2 separate regions of the Homo sapiens genome follow, and region 1 is linked to region 2. The links are contacts of gene promoters, found by promoter capture Hi-C in blood cells and fetal thymus (Javierre and others, 2016). All regions are on one chromosome and are shown on one strand. Each heading gives the region's core, a stretch centred on a gene start or on the middle of the fragment in contact. The rest is flanking DNA. Distances are from core to core; before and after follow the strand shown.

What was found. Contacts are between HindIII fragments. The CHiCAGO score rates a contact against its expected background, and 5 or more counts as called.
Region 1: the fragment with the promoter of HSPB2 here is called in contact with a fragment that was not itself captured in region 2 in 2 of 17 cell types (monocytes and neutrophils); the score reaches 5.7 in monocytes.

Annotation. Positions count from the first base shown.
Region 1 is chr11:111,911,484-111,916,521 of GRCh38, reverse strand. HSPB2 (heat shock protein family B (small) member 2) reads right to left here and starts at 3,788. Exons shown (of 2, transcript NM_001541.4): 1 at 3,599-3,788; 2 at 2,429-3,081. The coding sequence starts at 3,692. The coding sequence ends at 2,627. It overlaps CRYAB (crystallin alpha B), which reads left to right and starts at 4,752. Exons shown (of 3, transcript NM_001289808.2): 1 at 4,752-4,998. The coding sequence starts at 4,798. HSPB2-C11orf52 (HSPB2-C11orf52 readthrough (NMD candidate)) reads right to left here and starts at 3,786. Exons shown (of 5, transcript NR_037651.1): 1 at 3,599-3,786. RefSeq lists an enhancer at 2,384-3,037. The HindIII fragment of the contact is 6,880 bases long and covers 1-4,709 here.
Region 2 is chr11:113,324,996-113,329,420 of GRCh38, reverse strand. It overlaps TTC12 (tetratricopeptide repeat domain 12), which reads right to left. Exons shown (of 22, transcript NM_017868.4): 6 at 3,776-3,897. Among named protein-coding and RNA genes, the nearest start is that of TTC12, 13 kb to the right of the region's middle. The HindIII fragment of the contact is 2,038 bases long and covers 2,123-4,160 here.

The DNA of each region.
Region 1 (5,038 bases), core at 2,539-5,038, 1.4 Mb after region 2:
GCTGGGTGTGGTGGCTCACGCCTGTAACCCCAATGTGTTGGGAGGCCGAGGTGGGCAGATTGCTTGAGGCCAGAAGTTCAAGACTAGCCTGGACAACATGGCGAAACCCAGTCTCTACAAAAAATTAGCCAGGTGTTGTGGCGCATGCCTGTAGCCTCAGTTACTCAGGAGGTTGAGGTGGGAGGATTGCTTGAGCCCAGGAGGAGGAGGTTGCAGTGAGGGGAGATGACACCACTGTACACCCAGCCTCGGTGACAGAGAGAGACTTTGTCTTAAAAAAAAAAAAAAGAACTAGGCATGTTTAGCTGGGAAAGGGAAGCCTCAGGAAGACAGGATGGTTATCTTTAAATATCAGAAGGATTTTCAGTGAAAAAACCATTGTGTTTGTTTTCCAGAGAAGTTACTGAAATGCAGATTTTGATTCAACAAAAGGAGGAATTTATAACGGTTAAGTCAGTTAAGACCAAAAAGAAAATGGAAGGCCAGGTACAGAGGCTCACACCTGTAATCCCAGTACTGTGGCAGACCAAGGATAGAGGATTGCTTGAGTCCAGGAGTTCAAGACCAGCCTGGACAACAAGGCGAGACCTCATCTCCAGAAAAAGTAAAAAATTAGCCAGGCGTGGTGGCACACACCTGTAGTCCCAGCTACTCAGGAGGCTGAGGCAGGAGGATTGCTTGAGCAAGGGAGGTTGAGGCTGCAGTGAGCCATGATCATGCCACTGCACTCCATCCTGAGCAACAGAACAAGACCCTGTCTAAAAAAGAAAAGAAAGAACATGGAAACGACTACCGTGAGAAGTTCTAAGTTGTCTGTTATTCAGAATGTCCCCGAATAAGTTGATTAATAACTTTAAAAGCATTTGAATGGAGAGGGGATTTGGACTAAATCAGAAGTTTTCAAATTTCTTATAGCTAGGAAACCCTTTCCTTTAAATAAAGCTCAGTTACAAAACATATCAATGTGAAGCTATTTTGGTTGAAGTCTAAGTAGAATCCTTTTCTTATTATTTTTCTTCTCAACTAGATTCTGGAAAGTTGACAATAAAAGCTAATAGTTTTTATAATTTATATTTACAATGTATATCCCCCAAGGTGTATTACATGAGGTTTGATAAATATTTACTGAATGAATGAATGAACAGTTAAATATGTCAAATGTTATTTCTCTGGGGCATGCTTTCATTTTTAATAGACAGCAATCTTTTAACCAAAAGTCGAATTCCTCAAGTGAGTTCTGTTATCCTGGAGGTCCACAGATCCCTAAGGGGGGTATGTGAATGGGTCTTAAGAGTTGTGGGAACCTATTCAAATTGTATTGCCAAATTTGGGAGCATATGTATTTTTCTGGTAAGAGCAGCTATAGCTTTTGTCAGATTTTCAGAAGGGTCTATAACTCCCAAAAGTTAAGAAACAACCACTTAATTTAATTCAATTCAATTTAATTTTTTTGAGGCAGGGTCTCACTCTGTCACCCAGGCTGGAGTGCAGTGGCGCAATCTCAGCTCACTGCAGCTTCAACCTCCCTAGCTCATCCTCCCACCTCAGCCTCCCAAGTAGCTGGGACTACAGGCATGCACCACCATGCCTGGCTAATTTTTATTTTTTTGTAGAGACAAGGTTGCACTCTATTGCCCAGGCTGGTCTCTTACTCTTGGGCTCAAGTGATCCTCCTGCCTCGGCCTCCCAAAGTACTGGGATTACAGGTGTGAGCTGCTGCACCCAGCCAAGAAACAACTGCTTTAATGGAAGAATTGTAGGTATCTACCACAGCCTAATGAAATATGTATTTGGAGGCAGGAAGGTCTTTTGGACACTTCCCCCAAATCATGTAGCTGGATGTTCTCTTGATTGCAGAGAATAACTGAGGGGACAGACCTCAGGCTTTCCTGAATACACCGTACCCCCAGAGGATGGGAAGGTAATGGGGTTCCGTGATAATTGGAGAGGCTTTGTGTCTGTGCCCTGTGTATGCATACTCAGGCTCTCAAAATCAGTGACCATTTAAGTGGACAGACCTTAGTACATGAAAACAAAGTATTCACTCCAGGACTTTAGGCAACTCTCACCAGCCAAAAACCATTTTCCCAGCCCCTACCCAAAAAGGGCCAGACAGTCTGGAGACCCTTGTTTTTGTGTCTCTAATCACCAGCTCAGACAGTGCCCTCTGGGCTGTTTGGATGGCATATCCCTTTTCCCTCCCAGGATCACTCTCTCTTTTGTTGCATTGTGAGAAAATTATGGCTAGGAATTTGATCTGGAGCCAGAGTCAGCTTCCGGGTGTGATCTCAGCATCCAAGTGCGAGCTCAGGGTCCTATGACGTTGGGCACATCAAACTGAGGAGCTTTTTGTCTAGCTGGCTGTGACCTCCTCCCTCCCTCCCCATCCCAGCTTCCCGGCCACAGAATAGGGAGCAGTACAAACAAGGCCCTGAGATTTGGGTTTATTCAGCTCCACCCAAAACTAAACCAAGGCTATGACATGTCCCATGGGACCAAACCATACATTGTGGACCATGCACCTTTCCCTTCCCCCAAGGATGCTGCTACCTCTGGAGTGGTGGGCAGCTGCCCATATCACCTTGGGAGGTAGAGAGGGATTTGCTGGGTGCTGGGTCTGTGGCAATCAGGGCTCAACTATGGCTGCCTCCTCCTCTTCCTCTGGATCAGGAGGCGCAGGGAGCAGGGAGATGTAGACCTCATTGACCTCTGTGTCCAAATGTCGGCCACCCCGAGGTGCTTCCAGGTTTAAGATGCCATCATGGGAGAGAGCAGCTCGGACTCGCCAGGGGTCGACATCAGCAGGCAGGACATAGGTGCGGCAGAACTCTCGGGACACGAAGCCGTGGCGGTCCAGGCGCTGGGGGTGCCGGGCAGACACCTCCAGCAGGTTATCCACAGTCCTCACAGTCACCTCGTCTGGGGTAAAGTGGCTCACATCCAGAAATGCCTGGAACTTGCCCTCACTGAGCCTAAGCTCGGAGGCCCCTGCCCTGCTGCCCTCCCCAGCTGGGGCGGCCCGAGGCCGGACATAGTAGCCATGGTAGAGTGTGGGGGTCAGGATCTCTTCTGGCAGGAGGCCTAAAGGGCAGAGAGAAGGCAAGAGGCAGGATGAGGGAGGATGAGGCTGGCACAGGGGCGAAATGGGAAATCTGGAGAGGAGGGATTGGGAAGAGCAAGAGGGGAGTCAGGAGGAGTAGGGAACGGGAGGGAGGCCACACTGTAGCTAGGAGGAGAAGGCAGCTCGGAAGAGGGGAAAGAGAACGGAAAGGAAAGGGAGGAGGAGGAGGAGAAGGAGGAGGAGGGGGAGGAGGAGGAGGCACCAAACGGCCTGGGTGGATAGAAGGGGGACAAGGAGGCACACCCAGGCCGGCAAAGAGCAGGTATCAGCACTGCAAGCACCAAGTGTGTCTTGAGGTCAGCAGGAATGGGAAAGATCTCTGCTTGGAGGGGATGAGGGGTAGTCTGGGGTGGGGGGTGGCTGGTCCCAGGAGATCAGTTAAGCCCAGAGTGGGGTGGAGGCCAGCAACGTTGGGAGGTCAGCCCAGAATTTCAGGGGGTGGGGGTGGGGGGCAAGGGGGTGGTGTCTGTGCCATACCTTCTCCGAAGCGCTGCTCACCCAGGCGGCTCGGGTTGGCAAATTCGTACTCGGCGGTGGCCGGGTGGGCATGTGGCACTGAGCGGCCCGACATGGCTGCAGATGCAGCAGAAGCCCTGGTCCGAGGTGCAGCCCCAACAGGCGCAGCGCGACCCCTCCAGCTGCCCGGAGAGCCAGGGCTCGATAGGAGGTGGGGGCGGGGTCGACACCACCCAAAATAGTGCCGAGCCTCTTGGGGGGGGAGGGGCTGGGAGTGGGGGCCCTGAGTGAGAGCAACGAGGGTGTGACCAGCGCCGCCCGGACCCCTAGTCCCCTCCCCCGCACACTCTTCAGCTGTCGCAGGGGGCCTGAGAGGACAGCTGAGGGTCCTGGCTGGGAACGAGCTGGGGAGGGGGAGCTGGTGGTGCCTGGGGCATGAAGAGGCCTCGCTGAGACCCTCACAAACGGTTTGCACGTTTCCACACCTCATTTTCTCCTCTTCGGTGGCAGGCACTGTGCACCCAATTCCTAAAGCACTCCTGGATTTAATGTTCTGAGAGCCACATAGAACGAAAGATGCAAGAAATCTGTTTGCTCTTTTTTCAGGGGGTGGGGTCTTTCTGCCCAGATGTGGGATCCTCTCCTAAACCCAGGTCAACCCAGGGCACGAGGCAGATGGCTGGTGCTGACATGTTGACCATCACTGCTCTCTTCCAAGGACTCACAAAGAGTTAATGTCCCTGGGGCTCAGCCTAGGAAGATTCCAGTCCCTGCCCAGGCCCAAGATAGTTGCTGGCCTGATTCCCCTGGCATTCAGGACTGGAAAGGAGGAGGAGGGGCACACTACGCCGGCTCCCATCCTCCCCCCACCCCGCGTGCCTGCTTGGGATTCCTGACTCTGTACCAGCTTCAGAGAACAGGGGTGGGGGTGGGTGCCATTGGGTGTGGACAGAAAGCTAGTGAAACAAGACCATGACAAGTCACTGGCCGGCTCAGACGTGTTTGTGTCTCTCTTTTCTTAGCTCAGTGAGTACTGGGTATGTGTCACATTGCCAAATCCCGGATCACAAGTCTCCATGAACTGCTGGTGAGCTAGGATAATAAAACCCCTGACATCACCATTCCAGAAGCTTCACAAGACTGCATATATAAGGGGCTGGCTGTAGCTGCAGCTGAAGGAGCTGACCAGCCAGCTGACCCCTCACACTCACCTAGCCACCATGGACATCGCCATCCACCACCCCTGGATCCGCCGCCCCTTCTTTCCTTTCCACTCCCCCAGCCGCCTCTTTGACCAGTTCTTCGGAGAGCACCTGTTGGAGTCTGATCTTTTCCCGACGTCTACTTCCCTGAGTCCCTTCTACCTTCGGCCACCCTCCTTCCTGCGGGCACCCAGCTGGTTTGACACTGGACTCTCAGAGGTGAGTCTCCCCACAGCTAGGACGGGAGAGTCCTTACTGG
Region 2 (4,425 bases), core at 1,892-4,391:
CCTCCAGGGCACAAAGCAGGGAAGGATCTAGAGGGACAGAGAAAATACCCAGCTCACTAGCCACATCCAAGAAGGAAGAGCTGGATTCTGGAGTCTACCCTGCTGTGAATGTTCCAGAAAAACACCAAATGATAAAGGGGATAAAAAAGACAGATAATTAGAGCTCTCATACACTGCTGGTGGGCATTAAAATGGCACAGCCCATCTGGAAGATAGCCTGGAAGTTCTTCAGAAGGTTAAATATGTTACCATATGACCCAGTAATTTTACTCCTAGGTATATACCAAAGAAGAATATAAATATACATCCATACAAATGCTTACACATGAATGTTCATAGCAGAATTATTCATGATAGTCAAAAGGCAACAATCCAAATGTCCATCAGTGATGAAGGGATACATAAAATATGGTATATCCACACAATGGAAAATTATTCAGCAATAAAAAGAAATGAAGAGGAGTTGATACATACTATAACATGGATGAATCTTAAAAGCATTACGATAAATGAAAGAAGCCAGTCATAAAAGGACAAATGTATGATTTCATTTATATAAAATGTCCAGAACAGACAAAGGTATAGAGACAAAAAGTAGATTGGTGATTATCTTGGGCTGGGAGTAGTAATGGGAGGATTGGGGGAGTTGACAGTTGAAGATGGAGCTTTTTTGGGGGATGATGATGAAATGTTCAAAAATTGATTGTGATGGTTGCACAACTCTGTGATTATACTAAAATTCCATTAAATTGTGTACTATAAAAGGGTGAACTGTATGGTATGTGAATTATATCTCAATAACGCTGTTATCAAAAGATAATAAAGCTCTGCTTCTGTCCTCCCGAGCACAGCAGAAAAAAAAAATGAAAGAAGTAGAGTGACATATGAGAGTCAGAGCATCACCATGAAGCCTTAGTATCAAATGCCTGGGGCACTCTTTTAGAATCCCCTAGAATTGGGGAAAATCTTGAAAATCAAGAATTGACTCAGAATTCCGTGATCCATTCAAACTGAACTGATTGAGAACTTAGTTCAATGTTTCTAAGGACTAGAGGAATATAAACAAATGAAAGACTATAAACAAGCACAATGGCTACTATAACCTCTCTATTAATTACTGGACACAGTAAGTGGTCAATAAAGTCTTATCAAATTGCACTAAGTAACTCTGAAGCACTCTTCTTCTGGAAAGCTCCCTGAGAGGCAGCATCGATCATCCCATTTGTACGAAAGGATAGCCAAGCACCAGGAGTGGTGGCTTTTCCAGGGTTCCATCAGCAACCAATAATAAAGCCAGTACTACACATAGGATTGTCCATGATCAAAACTGTACCAGGGCACTGCAACACAATCTTAACAACGAACCTCATGAGATACTTACATGGACAAGCCAATTGTGGGGTCAATGTTGCAACTCACAGGGAATCCAAGTATCCAACCCAAGTGAGGAGGGAGTAGGCAACAGCCAGCAAATGAATTGAAATCATGCCGCTCTTGGCTCCCATAGCAAGGAAGCTGCGAGTGGTGCTTTCATTAACTCATGTTCTGTACTAATTAGAGAAGACGACTCTTTGAGCTATCTGTTCTGTAAAGCATCATCCTTTTCTCCAGGGTCTCAGGTTTCATTTGAAAATTAGAGGATGTGAAGAGGAAGCTGGCATCATTCTAGACAGCTGTGGCCATGATTTCATGGCACTATTATTTAGGATACATGCAGACTCTGAAGAAGTCTTTATGGGTTCCAACAATTTCTCTACACAGCCTTTTACTTTTTTTTTTCTTTCTCTCTTAAGGCTTGGATTAAACACCCTATAACTTCCTCAATCTCTTTTGCTTTTGCACATTTTAAAAAGGAACTACTTTTTCCAAACAGCAATTAAACTCCAGATTTATCTAAATTATACCGGCAATCTATTGATCATAACATTAACTCCAGGGGAAAAACAAAGCAATGAAAGGTTAGGTTTTCTCTCTAGCAAGCAACACTCAATTTACAGGGTCCTTATTAAGTGTTTTCTGACACTGCATGCATACAGGGGAAGCATTTTAAAAATAGTCAATGGTTCAAACGGTTTGTAACACCAGGGAGCACATTGTCCATTATTTTGTCTCTGCATAAGCTTTCTCCTTGGGAAAGCTGAGAGGAATCACTCCCTCAAACCTTTTCATTACATTTCCTTATATTTATCCACATTCATTCTTAATGTGATTCTTCAGAACTAATCAAAGTGCTGCTTAAAAATGAGTGCAGTGAAAATATAATTTAGATGAATCAGAGTATAGACAGTCTGAATTAGATATGTCTGAAATTATATAACTTTTTTAAAGCAATTCAATTTTGTTGCTTTCAAATAATTTCAGAGTAACACAACTGAATAAGCATCAGTAGGCAGATGTTTTTAGAGACCAAATTTGGTAATAAATAAGAAGGAACTATAATTATTCTATTAATTGCTTGCATTTAAGTGATGCCTCTGAATTGTCAACAGAAACTTAACTCCCTTAATTGGACTTATTGTGCTTTTAACGTTATGTAACTAAAAAAGGATTTATTGAACATCTGCTATAAATAAAGCATTAGGGGAAAAAGTATATGGCAGTTTTTGCCCTCAAAAAGTTTATAATCTTGTTCGGGTAATGCAATGTACTGCTAAATCAACCTCTGGCCATCTTTTTTACCGATTCACTTCCTTATAACAAGTTTTCTCCAAAATTGGGATAGTTTAAATGACACTTCAACTCTAGTCTAACATATCCAAATTGCTAAACTAGTGAGATTATACTGCTTGGATTTATTTATCATTAAGTCACTGTCACTCCCCATATGTTTCGGCTTCCGAATGTCCTGTTTCTTGCTTCCAGTCCTCTTCCTCAACATCCCAGAGCCAGACATTCTTAAACTCGAGTTAGGGAAATTAGAGCTGATGAGGACTCTGCTGAGCCTCTCCCTCTTGCAAATGACAGGGCATCAAGTCCACCTCACACAGGTCCTGCTGACATATTCTGACCATGGGGTAATCATGTCCATGAATCTGCCAATTTTTCAGGCCTGTCCAGCAGAGAACTCTACCACACAAAAACTAAACTACTTTTCAAAGATAAGGTCACAGGTGATGGTTTTGTTTCAGTTGAGAGCTATCAGCCTATCCCTTCATTAAGTAGTAAATAAACATCTGGGTGGTTTTTACCTGGTGTTCCAGGAAATTGAGCTCATTTGTGACATATACTAATGCATAAAAACCTTCAGAAACCCAAAATTTCCAAGAAATTGGCTCCAGGACCATTGGCTATCCACTTTATCCCTGTCGCAGAATCTTAAAGAGAGACTGATACAATGAATGAGAAACTAACAGGTGGGCATCCGCTAGGAGTTAAGACTAGTACCAAAAAAGGAGGCTGAAGAAATATGTTGGTAGCAGAATTCTAAGGTCCCATAGGTCATTTCATTCCACTAGTTTTCTCCTTTATCCACAGGGACAAGTGCATGGTCACCATCAGTGATATGATGGAGCTGACTTATACTATGGAGAGAGCTGATAATGGACAGCTCTTCCCAAGTCCTCCTGCAGTGATTCCAAATTAGATCATGGTGAGAATATTTGCATCATGGAAACTGGTAAATGCTGTGTATAAGTCAGCTCCTCCCACACTTAAAACAAGAGCCAGTTCTTATAAACATTTCCCAGCCCAACATCTAGCCTCATCTTTGTTTTCCCAAGTTTAGTGGCAACTATTCCCTGAGAAAGCCCCATGGATACATCCCTGCCTCACTGACCTGGGCTCGGTTGGTGTACAGCACTTTCATGTCCTTCAGCTTCTCCAAACCCTCACTGTAGCGCAGGATAGCTGTTTCATAATTGCCTTCAGCAAATGCTTCATTCCCTTTTTCTTTTAGGGCTATGGGAATATAAGTTACACAGGTGAGCTCTCACCACACATCAGAAAATCTCTCAGACTTTATTCCCCCGATTTTCCAATTCTATTTCGAAGGTCTTCACTTCTATCGATCCTAAAGGGACTTGACACTTGTTTTTTTCTGCAGATACTTCAGGACCAGCTTCTTCAAGTATTTTTTTTCCTCCAAATCCACCCATGTCTTCTAAGTAGATTCTCAGAAAAAGTAAATGTTTCTGCATTGAGGCTGAGAACCATACTAAGCTTGCCACAGAGACCAAATCTGTGCATTCGGTGTCTCATAAAGAGGGTCAAATAATTAATTTTCCCAACAAATATGGAATCATTCAGACCTGCAGCACACACAGCCCTGGGTGGTATAAAATAAAAGTGAAAACATTCTTCTATCATATGTATCTCCCTGCAACATACACAATCCCATCCCTTCCTTTTCCTTGATGTCTCCTCTCCTATCTCACAGCTGTTTTATTTTTCTTTTCCACTTCTTCATCTATGCCTTAGGCTAGCCAG